2 separate regions of the Homo sapiens genome follow, and region 1 is linked to region 2. The links are contacts of gene promoters, found by promoter capture Hi-C in blood cells and fetal thymus (Javierre and others, 2016). All regions are on one chromosome and are shown on one strand. The core of a region is centred on a gene start or on the middle of the fragment in contact, and the rest is flanking DNA. Distances in the headings are between cores, read along the strand shown. Region 1 holds the start of CLYBL (citramalyl-CoA lyase). Region 2 holds the start of DNAJC3 (DnaJ heat shock protein family (Hsp40) member C3).

What was found. The method cuts DNA at HindIII sites, captures the fragments that hold promoters and counts their contacts. A CHiCAGO score of 5 or more calls a contact.
Region 1: the fragment with the promoter of CLYBL here is called in contact with the fragment with the promoter of DNAJC3 in region 2 in 1 of 17 cell types (neutrophils); the score reaches 6.8 in neutrophils.

Annotation. Positions count from the first base shown.
Region 1 is chr13:99,604,667-99,610,153 of GRCh38, reverse strand. CLYBL (citramalyl-CoA lyase) reads right to left here and starts at 3,464. Exons shown (of 9, transcript NM_206808.5): 1 at 3,397-3,464. The coding sequence starts at 3,458. It overlaps LOC105370332 (a long non-coding RNA gene), which reads left to right and starts at 4,305. Exons shown (of 3, transcript XR_931674.3): 1 at 4,305-4,392. RefSeq lists a silencer at 3,124-3,683 and enhancers at 3,405-3,699, 3,622-4,601. The HindIII fragment of the contact is 13,725 bases long and covers 2,974-5,487 here.
Region 2 is chr13:95,674,123-95,678,950 of GRCh38, reverse strand. DNAJC3 (DnaJ heat shock protein family (Hsp40) member C3) reads right to left here and starts at 1,812. Exons shown (of 12, transcript NM_006260.5): 1 at 1,614-1,812. The coding sequence starts at 1,695. It overlaps DNAJC3-DT (DNAJC3 divergent transcript), which reads left to right and starts at 2,026. Exons shown (of 2, transcript NR_132117.1): 1 at 2,026-3,099; 2 at 4,283-4,828. RefSeq lists silencers at 1,432-1,521, 1,752-1,991 and enhancers at 1,632-1,681, 1,028-1,874, 2,512-2,611, 1,875-2,722. The HindIII fragment of the contact is 3,320 bases long and covers 345-3,664 here.

The sequences.
Region 1 (5,487 bases), core at 2,215-4,714, 3.9 Mb before region 2:
AGGCAAGAAAATCATTTGAACCCAGCAGTTCAAGACCACCCTTGGCAACACTGCAAGACTCTGTCTCTTCAAAAAATTTAAAAATTAGCTGGGCATAGTGGTGTGTGCCTGTAGTCCCAGCTACTGGGGAGGCTGAGGCAGGAGGATCACTTGAGCCCAGGAGCTGCAGGCTGCAGTGAGCTACGATCTCACCACTGCACTCCAGCCTGGAGACTCCGTCTCTAAGAGAAAGAAAGAAAAAAAGAACTAAAGGAAAGTATGAGAACGATGTTTCAGTACATAGAGAATATCAATGAAGAGATAGAAAGTATAGAAAAGGGCCGGGCATGATGGCTCATGCCTGTAATCCCAATACTATGAGCGACAGAGGCAGGCAGATTGCTTGAGCCAAGTTCGAGACCAGCCTGAGCAACATGGCGAAACCTGATTTCTACAAAAGAATAGAAACAATTAGCCAGGTGCAGTGGTGCACACCTGTAGTCCCAGCTATTTGGGAGGCTGAGGTGGGAGGACAGCTTGAGCCCAGGAGGCAGAGGTTGTAGTGAGCCCAGATTGCACCACTGCACTCCAGCCTGGGTGACAGAGTGAGACTCATTCTCCAAAAAGAAAGAAGTTCTGGATTAAAATGAAAATGATTTGAGTTGGAAGACGGAGCAATCAGCAAACCTAAAAACAGGTCGGCTGGGCACGGTGGCTCACACCTGTAATCCCAGCACTTTGGGAGGCCAAGGCAGGTGGATCACGAGGTCAGAAGATCGAGACCATCCTGGCCAACATGGTGAAACCCCGTCTCTACTAAAAATACAAAAATTAGCTGGACGTGGTGGCGCGTGCCTGTAATCCCAACTACTCGGGAAGCTGGAGCAGGAGAATCGCTTGAACCCGGGAGTCAGAGGTTGCAGTGGGCAGAAATTGCGCCACTGAACTCCAGCCTGGTGACAGAGCAAGACTCTGTCTCAAAAAAAAAAAAAAAAAAAAAAAAAACAAAGACAGGTCAATTGACATTGTCCAGCCTGAGGAACAGAAAGAAAATGGAACAGTCTCAAAGACCTGTGGGGTTCCATCAACTACACCAACATATACGCAATGGGAGCCTCCGAAAGAGAAGAGAGAGATAAGAGAGTAGACTTTTTTGAGAGAACAATAGCCAAAAACTTCCCAAATTTGATGTATACACATCCAAGAAACTCAATAAACTTCCAAGAGGATAAACTCAAACAGATCTACACACATCATAATAAAACCACCGAAAGACCAAGACAAAGAGAAAATCAAGCAAAAAAAAAAAAAAAAAAAAAAAAAAAAAGACTCATCACTTACATAGAACCCTAATAACATTAACGTCTGAATTCTCATTAGAATAATGGAGGCAAAAAGACAGTGCGATAATACGCTTTAAAATGCTCAAAGGAAAAAAAATGCCAATCAAGAATCCTATATTCAGCGGGTAGACATGTCGAGAACAGACCAGTGTGCTAAGGCGGGTGAGGAGCACTGAGTTAACCCCCAGCGTACTGGCGTGGGGACTGTGTGCGCTCACTGGACCCGCTACTGAACAGGTCACAGACGCTGGCCCCCTCAAAAGGCGCCAGAAAAGGACCCTTCTGGACCAGCCTGGATACACTGCCTGAGCTGCTCCTCTAGGGCGAGGGGTGACTCCCCTGTGCCAGGGGCAGCGGAGGAAATGGGAAAGTGGGATGCATAAGACTAGGTGGGTCCTCCCATAGGACATGGGTGACTGAAGAGTCACAGTGCAAGAAGACGTAAGAAGTTCAGACCCAGGCCGGGCACGGTGGCTCACGCCTTTAATCCCAACACTTTGGGAGGCCGAGGCAGGTGGATCACCCGAGGTCAGGAGCTCCAGACCAGCCTGGCCAACATGGTGAAACCTCGTCTCTATTAAAAATACAAAAATTAGCCGGGCATGGTGGCGGACGCCCTGTAATCCCAACTACTCCGGAGGCTGCGGCAGGAGAATCACTTGAATCCGGGAGGCGGAGGTTGCAGTCAGCTGAGATGGCGCCATTGCACTCCAGCCTGGGCGACAAAAGCGAAACTCCATCTCGGAAAAAAAAAAAAAAAAAAAAAAAAAGAAGTTCCAGACCACCAGGCCGGCCATGGTGGCTCACGCCTGTAATCCCAGCACTTTGGGAGGCTGATCCGGGTGGACCCCCTTGAGGTCAGGAGTTCGAGAACAGCCTGGCCAACATGGCGAAACTCTGTCTCTACTAAAAATACAAAAATTAGCCAGGGGTGGTGGTGCACACCTGTAATGCCAGCCACTCAGGAGGCTGAGGCATGAGAATCGCTTGAACCCAGGAGGTGGAGGTTGCAGTAAGCCGAGATTACACCACTGTACTACAGCCTAGGTGACAGACCGAGACTCTGTCTCAAAAAATAAAAATAAATAAATAAAGAAGTTCCAGACCAGGAGCCATACACTTAGTGTTTGAACCAAACTCTCTCATTACTGGTCATAGGGCTTTGAGAATCCTTAACCTTTCTGACCCTGTTTTTTCATCTTTATAAACATGACACCCAACTTCTTCACATGGTGGTCAAGGGAACCAAATGAGACCATGTATGTGCACGTACCTAGGCGATGGGCAAGTGCTAGACCAGCGGTTCTCAAAGTGTGGTCCAAAGACACCTGAGGGGGTCCCTGAGACCCGTTGAGAGGGTCTGCTTGGTCCTCCCTTTCCCAACTAATATCTGCATCTGCATGAGCCCAGAATTTCTTTCAAATATTTCCTTCAAAACAGCTGATATGAGACTCCAGCTGTCCTTTATTAAACCAAAGAAATTTTCAAAAATATAAAAACCATGAGCCAATCTTCTCACTTTTTTTTTGAGAAGTTATGCATTAAAGTGTTATTTGTATTAAAAGTTAATGGGTTTGTTATTAAGTGAATATTTTTTAAATTTCTGGTTTAATTCCTCATGCACAAAAATCAATAGATATAAGCAAAAGCTTTGGGGGGTCCTCAAATTATTTTTAGACGTGTAAACGGGTCCTGAGACCAAACCGTTTGGGAACCGCTGTGTTAAACGAACCGCAGGTGTTCTTCACCAGGCAAGCCGCCTCTCAAAGACTGGCGCGTTCACGTTTGCCATTTGGGGGAGGCAGGCAGTTTTGTTTCCTGGGGCTGAGTCCAGGTAATTCGACCTAAGGTGTGTACCCATTTTCCGGGTGCAACGAGGGCCCTCCCAAAGGGAGGCGCGGGCGGCAGCGACCTTGGACGAGGTCGAGCCAGCGCGTGGGAGGCGCATGGTGCTTCCGTCCGGCTGGGTTCCCGTGAGGGCTTGGGGAGGCCGCGCCCGGCCCGCGGGGCTGCAACAGGAGCCGACCCGCGGCGAGCCGGGCCGGGAAGGCGGGGAACGGGGACCTGCACTCACAGCCTCAGCAGCGCCGCCGCCGCAGCTCCGCGCGCCGCCCTCCGCAGCAGACGTAGCGCCATCTTCCCGACGCGCGCGCCCCGCCCTTTGCCTTTAGCCACGCCCACCCCACATTCCACGCCCCCACGGCGACACCGACCCCCCCCCCGTCCCAGGCCCCGCCTCGCTCTGTCTTCGCCCCGCCCCGTCCCGCCAGCCACACCCCGCCAGCCACGCCCTCCTTCCTCCCAGCACCCGCTCCGCCCCGCGGCGAGTCCCGAGGTCAACTGCCCTCCCGGCCAGGGCTTAGGACCTTCGTCCCCGCTGTCATGGGGGACAGAGCAGAGGATCTGAATGGTTGGGGCCTCTTTGAGGGGCCTCTCTGGTGACCGAATCCAACTCTCTGAGCTTCTGAGTTTTTGAGGCAACTGTTGACAGACTGCGTTTTCCCAGCCAGAAGAGCCAACATTTCTAGGGATTTCTTCGCAGCTTTTGTTGTTAAAATACCGCCTAATACTTTGTGAGCCCCATCATGTGCATATCTTGGTTAGCAATTAATCTAGAGTGGTCAAAGTGCAGGAAGGCTGCATCCTGGAACACACATGCCTGCAATAGGTCAGAGCAGCTGTTGGCACTCTCTGGGCAGGGAAACTGACAGCAGCTCTTTACTCTGCCCCCTGCAGCCGTTCTGCAGCGGTGAGAACGCCGAGGCGTTAAAACAGGCTGGGCCCTGCCCCTGCCTCTTCTTTCACCTTCCCTGATCCAGCCGGCCTCCACCTGCCGACCTTCACCTACCCGGGCCCATGTTACCCCTTAACCATGTCTTTTCCTTGGCACTCGGCATGTTTCTTTTTCAGCTGTGACTCCGTTCCATTCATGCTCTAGACTTAAACCTGAAACCGTTTCTCAGAACCTTCCAGTGGAAGCTGACTTGTGCTCTTGGATGCAAAAAGTGGCCGTTTAAACAAACAAAAGCCTTTTCAGCCAGAGGGGGTTCCAAGATTTGGAAAAGTCCAGGTGACTGGGAACATGGATGCTAAACTTCTGCTGAGCCTAAGAATTATTGTTATATTCGATACCAACAGGGGAGACTGCTCAACCCCTTGGTGCCCTCCCCCAGCTCCCACGCCTGCTCCACCTCAGGCCTCGCCTGTCTACTCCAATTTGGTCACTTTCTTGTCACCACCTTAGTCCCAGCCAGTGCCCGGTCCAGCCATACTGAAGCCTGAGGCAAAGGCAATTTCAGTAACACCAATCCTGTCTTTAATTAAAATTTTGATATTTTGTTCATAATGGGATTTTTCCATTATCTTGGTTTTTAGTTTAGAATATTACTTTTTTTTTTTTTTTGAGACAGTCTTGCTCTGTCGCCCAGGCTGTAGTGCAGTGGCACGATCTCAGCTCACACACTGTAACCTCCACCTCCTAGGCTTGAGTGATTCTCACCCCTCAGCCTCCTGAGTAGCTGGGACTACAGGCAAGTGCCACCACTTCCAACTAATTGTTTTGTATTTTTAGTAGAGATAGGGTTTCACCATGTTGGCTAGGCTGGTCTCGAACTCGTGGCCTCAAGTGATCCATCCGCGTCAGCCTCCCAAAGTGCTGGGCTTACAGGCATGAGCCACCATGCCAGGCCAATATTACTTATCTTTTTTTTTTTTTTTTTTTCTGAGATGGAGTCTCGCTCTGTCGCCCAGGCTGGAGTGCAGTAATTACTGAGACTTCTCCTTAAATTTTGCATCCCAGGCTGGGGCTGCACTCACCTCACTCAAGTCTGATTCTGGACATCATCATCCTTTACCTGGATTATTTCAAAGCCTCCTTGCTCCCATTCTTCCCTCCTACAATCACCCGTTTGCCATAAAACCTGGCTGACCTTTTAAAAGCATGACGCAGCTCCTAGTTCCAGAGTTGACTTGCTGTGTGACTTTGGTCAAGTTTCTTAAGCTCTCTGTTTCCTCATCTATAAAATGGGGGTATAAATACCTCATCACCTCATAGGCTTGTTATAATGATAGACTGAGTTTACATATACATAGAGAGAGACTGCACACTTAAAATCTAAGCAAGTTCTCAGTAGTGTTAACTATTCCTCATTATTATTGTCATTGC
Region 2 (4,828 bases), core at 563-3,062:
ACAATGGTCCTAAAGAAGACACTCTGGCACTCCTCTGAGAAATGTCACCAGTGCCTCCTACACAGAAAAGCTCTCAAATGTGGTTTTCTTATGGAAAATACCACAGGAGGGAAATGAAGAGTTAAGAGTCCTTACAGACTCATATACAGAACAGCAATTCTAAAAAGTAGTGGGAAAAGCAATCATTCAAAATTGTGCATCTCTGTAACTTAAAAAAAAAAATCACCATTAAACAGAACATAGGCAACTTTCTCTTAAGTGTCCAAAATAAATTATTAATGATAACTGGAGATAAATACTACAGATGAGGGATGGTGGGGTGCGGGGGCAGGAGGAATGAAGCTTTTGAAAATGCAAAAGAACTAGAATATATGACCCATATTAAAGTGGTACAGACCTTCAAATTCCAATCCCCTAGATTTTTCTGGGGGCAGCCTCACTGTCAAATTCTTTGTCCCAATGTTGCCACACTACGTGTTCTGATTTGGGGTTCAAAAAATATGGTTACCAGGGGAAGCAAAAGCAAAAGCCCATTGCTATGGGTGACACCTAAAAACTGGGGAGTACTACTTTAAAAAAAAAAGTTGAGAACTTTCAGAAGAATTCACTATAAACAATTCCCAATTTTTAGTTCCTCGCTCCCTTTGAATGGAATACTCAAAGGTTTAATTTGACCTCCTTGACAACTAGCCCTTTTTATGGGGATGAAAATAGATCAGTGCATGTGATGTGTCATTACACTCGAATATTTCGCACAGTAACCGCGCCAGAAGCATTCGTTAAATCGGCACTATCAACTTTAATTCTTACTCCTCCCCGCTGCCATCTAAGATAGGACAGCCCTCTATTTTCGCTATTCTGGAGTAGCCAACATTCCAGTCTGCAGGACTGAAGTGAAATTTAATCGTTCGTATCTTTTTAAGGGAACCTTTTTACAGCGAACTTGGAAAAGTAATGCCAGCCATACGTTGAATGACACCATGTTGGGAGTTGTAAAACCACAAACTCAGTGCCTGGCCGTCCGGGAGATGGAATTCCAACAGCGGCTCCTCATTGCACCAAACTAACAATTTCTCTACACGACAGTGCATCTTAATGGGGATGGTTACACACTTTTTAAATAGTCAACACTGTCCCCTCCAACTCCCAGCCGGACATGACACTCCTTCCCCACCCAAGAACTCCAGAGCGAAGGAAGTCTTTTGGCCACCTTAGTGCCTCCTCCCAGCCAGCACCAATGACTGACAGTGTCCCCAGGCGCCCAGCGAGGGTCCCAAGCGAGGCCAGGACCCAAAGGCTGCCCAAGTCTCCGCGTCCCAGGACTTCCTGAAGTCGTAGCCCGGTGCCCCCGCACCCCGCCTCCTCCGACTCCTGCGGCCCGGTTCCTTAGTCCAAACCCGCTGTCCCGGCCCCGCGGCCCGCCAGTCCCCTCGATTCTTCCCCAGACAAACCCGGAACCGGGCGCGGGCTCAGGCCCAAGCCAGGCCGCGGGCTCCCCCAGCGCTCGCCCCACCTCCCGAGCCGCTCCGGGACAGGCGCCCGGGCGCAGACGGGAAAGCGCGGGGGGCCTGGTCCGGGAGCCCACTTCCTGGCCGGGGCAGGGCAGGACTCACCTTCGTACTGCAGATCCACCAGGACTAGCAGGAAGGGGAATACCGAGCCCAGCCGGCTGGTCACGGAGCCGGGGGCCACCATGTCCGAGGGCTCGCGAGTGAAGAGGAGGAAAGGTGTGTGGCCCACCAGCACGCGCCGGCGCTCCGGCAGCAGCTGCGCCCGCCCGCCGTCGGCTCTCGCTCAGGCCTCAGTGGCTCTGGAGCCCAGCAGAGGAAGGCAGCGGTGGGCGGGGCCCGGGCGACGCTACGCCCCAGAGCGCCGCCGCCATCCAATCGCCTTCTTTCTGGCGGCTTTCCTCCCGGGCTCGCCGGGGTCGTGGTTCGCGCTGATAGGCTGCGGAGGCCGCCGCCCCGCCCCGTCCCTGATAGGATAACGTGGAAGCACGAGACGAGGCTGCGCCCGCCGGTCGCAGAGCTGTCAGCAAGCTCCAAACCGCGGCTGCCGCCCGGAGGGAAGCAGACGGGGAGTCGGTGGCGGCCGCCGAGTCCGCATGCGCAGGCTGCAAAGGCCCTTTTGGGCCGGTCCCGCCGCGCTAGGTTGGCGAGTGGGACTATTTGATCCTTTCCAGGTTCGCCAGCGTGGTGTTACGAGAGGAAAGCGCAGCCGCAGCGTACGAATGGGAAGGCCAAACACGGTCCCGGGGAGTCTGAGGGAAGCTGCAGGGCGCCTGGAATTGGGGTCTCGAGTGAGCCGGTAAAAACCGCCTCCCGCTGAGCGTCCCGGAACAAATACTGTCTGAACTGAGCCGTAAGCAAGAAACGGTCAGGAGAAGCTGGGGCGATCTGATGATTAGAACATTTCAGGGACTACCAGAGAGAAGTGCGTAATTGCTCTAAGGCAGGTAGGTAATTGGCCTGGAAACTTGGGAACGCCCCGCCCCCCACCCCGACTTTCAGCAAACCACCGTGCCCAGGAAAAAGAGCGATTGTGGAAGACCCTGTGAAGAAGAGACCAGGAAGGCACTGTGGCTTAAGAGAGCAAGGCGTTCCTGAATGCAGCCAACATCAACTGGTAAACAAAAAACTGTGAGAACGGATCCTGAATCTTGCGCTTACCAGGGGAAATTCAGGAGAGATATGAACCTGAGCAAGATGAGGTTGAAGTTACTCAATGCGGCATTAAGCCTGTTCACGGCCACTTCCTCCGGCGTCACCAACACACACACTGTACACCAGCAGTATTTTTACACGGGGTATGTGTGTTAAGTACTATCAGGTGGATAATTATTACTTCACCTGTATTTGCTGCCTTGATACCATTAGAGAAACTCATGAATTATAAATAGCATAGTGAATTTGTGATTCCCTGAAGATATACTAAGGTGGACTTTTAAAAAGGCTTCTATTCCAAAGGGAACTAATATGGAGGAAATGGTTTCGAGAAAGAAAAAAGAAAAAACGGAGTCCTTGATTAGTTGTGGGGAAGGCAACATAATGTAATGTGAAGAATAAAGGAGTCAGATCCAGGAAACCCCATAACTATTATGTAAGTTATCTTCATCTGTAAAGTGGTTAGGATCCTGATAGTCTCAAAGGTTTGTTTTGAGGTTTCATGAAGCAGATAAATATTCTTGTAAATTGTAGAATGTTATACCAGTGTTACTCATTATTCTAACAAGAGCAGAGTAGTGAAGAGAGGCTCCTTCAGAAATTCCTTGGGATTTTTTTTTTTTTGGCTTCTGTTTTTTTATATCACAAGGTAGTGTCTCTGAAAAATGGTAGATGATTTCAATGTCCACAAATATGCAGGTGTAGACATTCAATTGAGGTACTGTACCCAAGGCAGCCAGCAAAATGCTGAACATAGAAAATAACTTTGTAAACAAAATGCAATATTTCTAGACAGTGAGTTATCACCAGTGTGCTGCCTATGACCCTGGCCTTAAGGAAAAAGTAGCAGAGCTGAAGAAGTTCTAAGGATGGAAATTAAAAATTATTAAGGAGATAATAGACTTCGTGTTATAGGAAATAAAAATAGCAAGGGTCTTCAATGGTGAGTGATTTTGAGATTAATTACATAACTATGAATTCTGTAATATTAGAACTAAGCTTTACAAAGCATTCCTTAAAAAAAGATAATTTTACAACAAAGGTAACATTAGACAGAAAAAAATGTACAAAACTAAAATTAAGTGATTAATGCTTGGGAATGTTTCCTCCAATGTTCATCTAGTCATGGTTTTCACGAATCACTCTTGCCAATAAAACCGAAAATCAAAGTAATCTAGTGAGTGTAAGAAAAGTTACTGTAAATATGTTTGCATTCGTCAGACTCTATGGAGTCTTTTTGAAGTTAAACATTAAATCTCCACTGTAATTCATACTGTTAATTATAGTAGCAAAAGACTTAAAAAACAATGGTAGCATATTTATGATATATCCAAAATTAAGAGTATTATGCAATTTTTATTAGGTTGATCTATGTTTATTGACTAGGAAAAACAATGTTGGTAGAGAGGAGTGAACAGATCTAGAACATATTTTGTAGGTAAAGGGAATAAGATTTGTTTAGGAATTAACTATGAGGAGAAATAAATGTTCAGAAACAAGTAGAGCACTTATAAACACCTTTTTGTGCCAAATTAAGAACAAAAAAGTCAGCATTAAGTTAATGCCACCATATACATCCTTCCACATTTATGTTTACAAACTTGTGCTTTTATTTCTAGGAAACATTTCTAGGCTGGGCGCAGTGGCTCACACCTGTAATGCTAGCGCTTTGGGAAGCCAAGATGGGAGGATTATTTGAGGCCGGGAGTTTGCGACCAGCCTGAGCAACATAGCAGGATCCTGTCTCTGCAAAAAAATTTAAAACTAGCCAGGTGCGGTGGCTCGTGCCTGTTGCCCTAGCTACTCAGGGAGACTGAGGCAGAGGATTGCTTCAACCCAGGAGTTTGAGGTTGCAGTGAGCTAAGATCATGTCACTGCACTCCAGACTGAGCAACAGAGTGACACTTTATAAAAAAAAAAAAAAAAAAAACTAGGTTTTTGAACTTGCTTAATCAAAGAATTTGTTTAAACTTTTAAGATGCGTTGTCAGATTATCTTTCCCTAAAGGAATAATTTCTATTCCTATCAGCTGTTTATATTCCTGCCTAGTCACCATCACTAGATATAATTGATTTTCAGTTTTTGCCAATCTGAGGAACAAAAAATGACCCTTATATGTCAAATTTACAGTTTATTTTCAAGGATTTTGGGATTCTGATCAAATT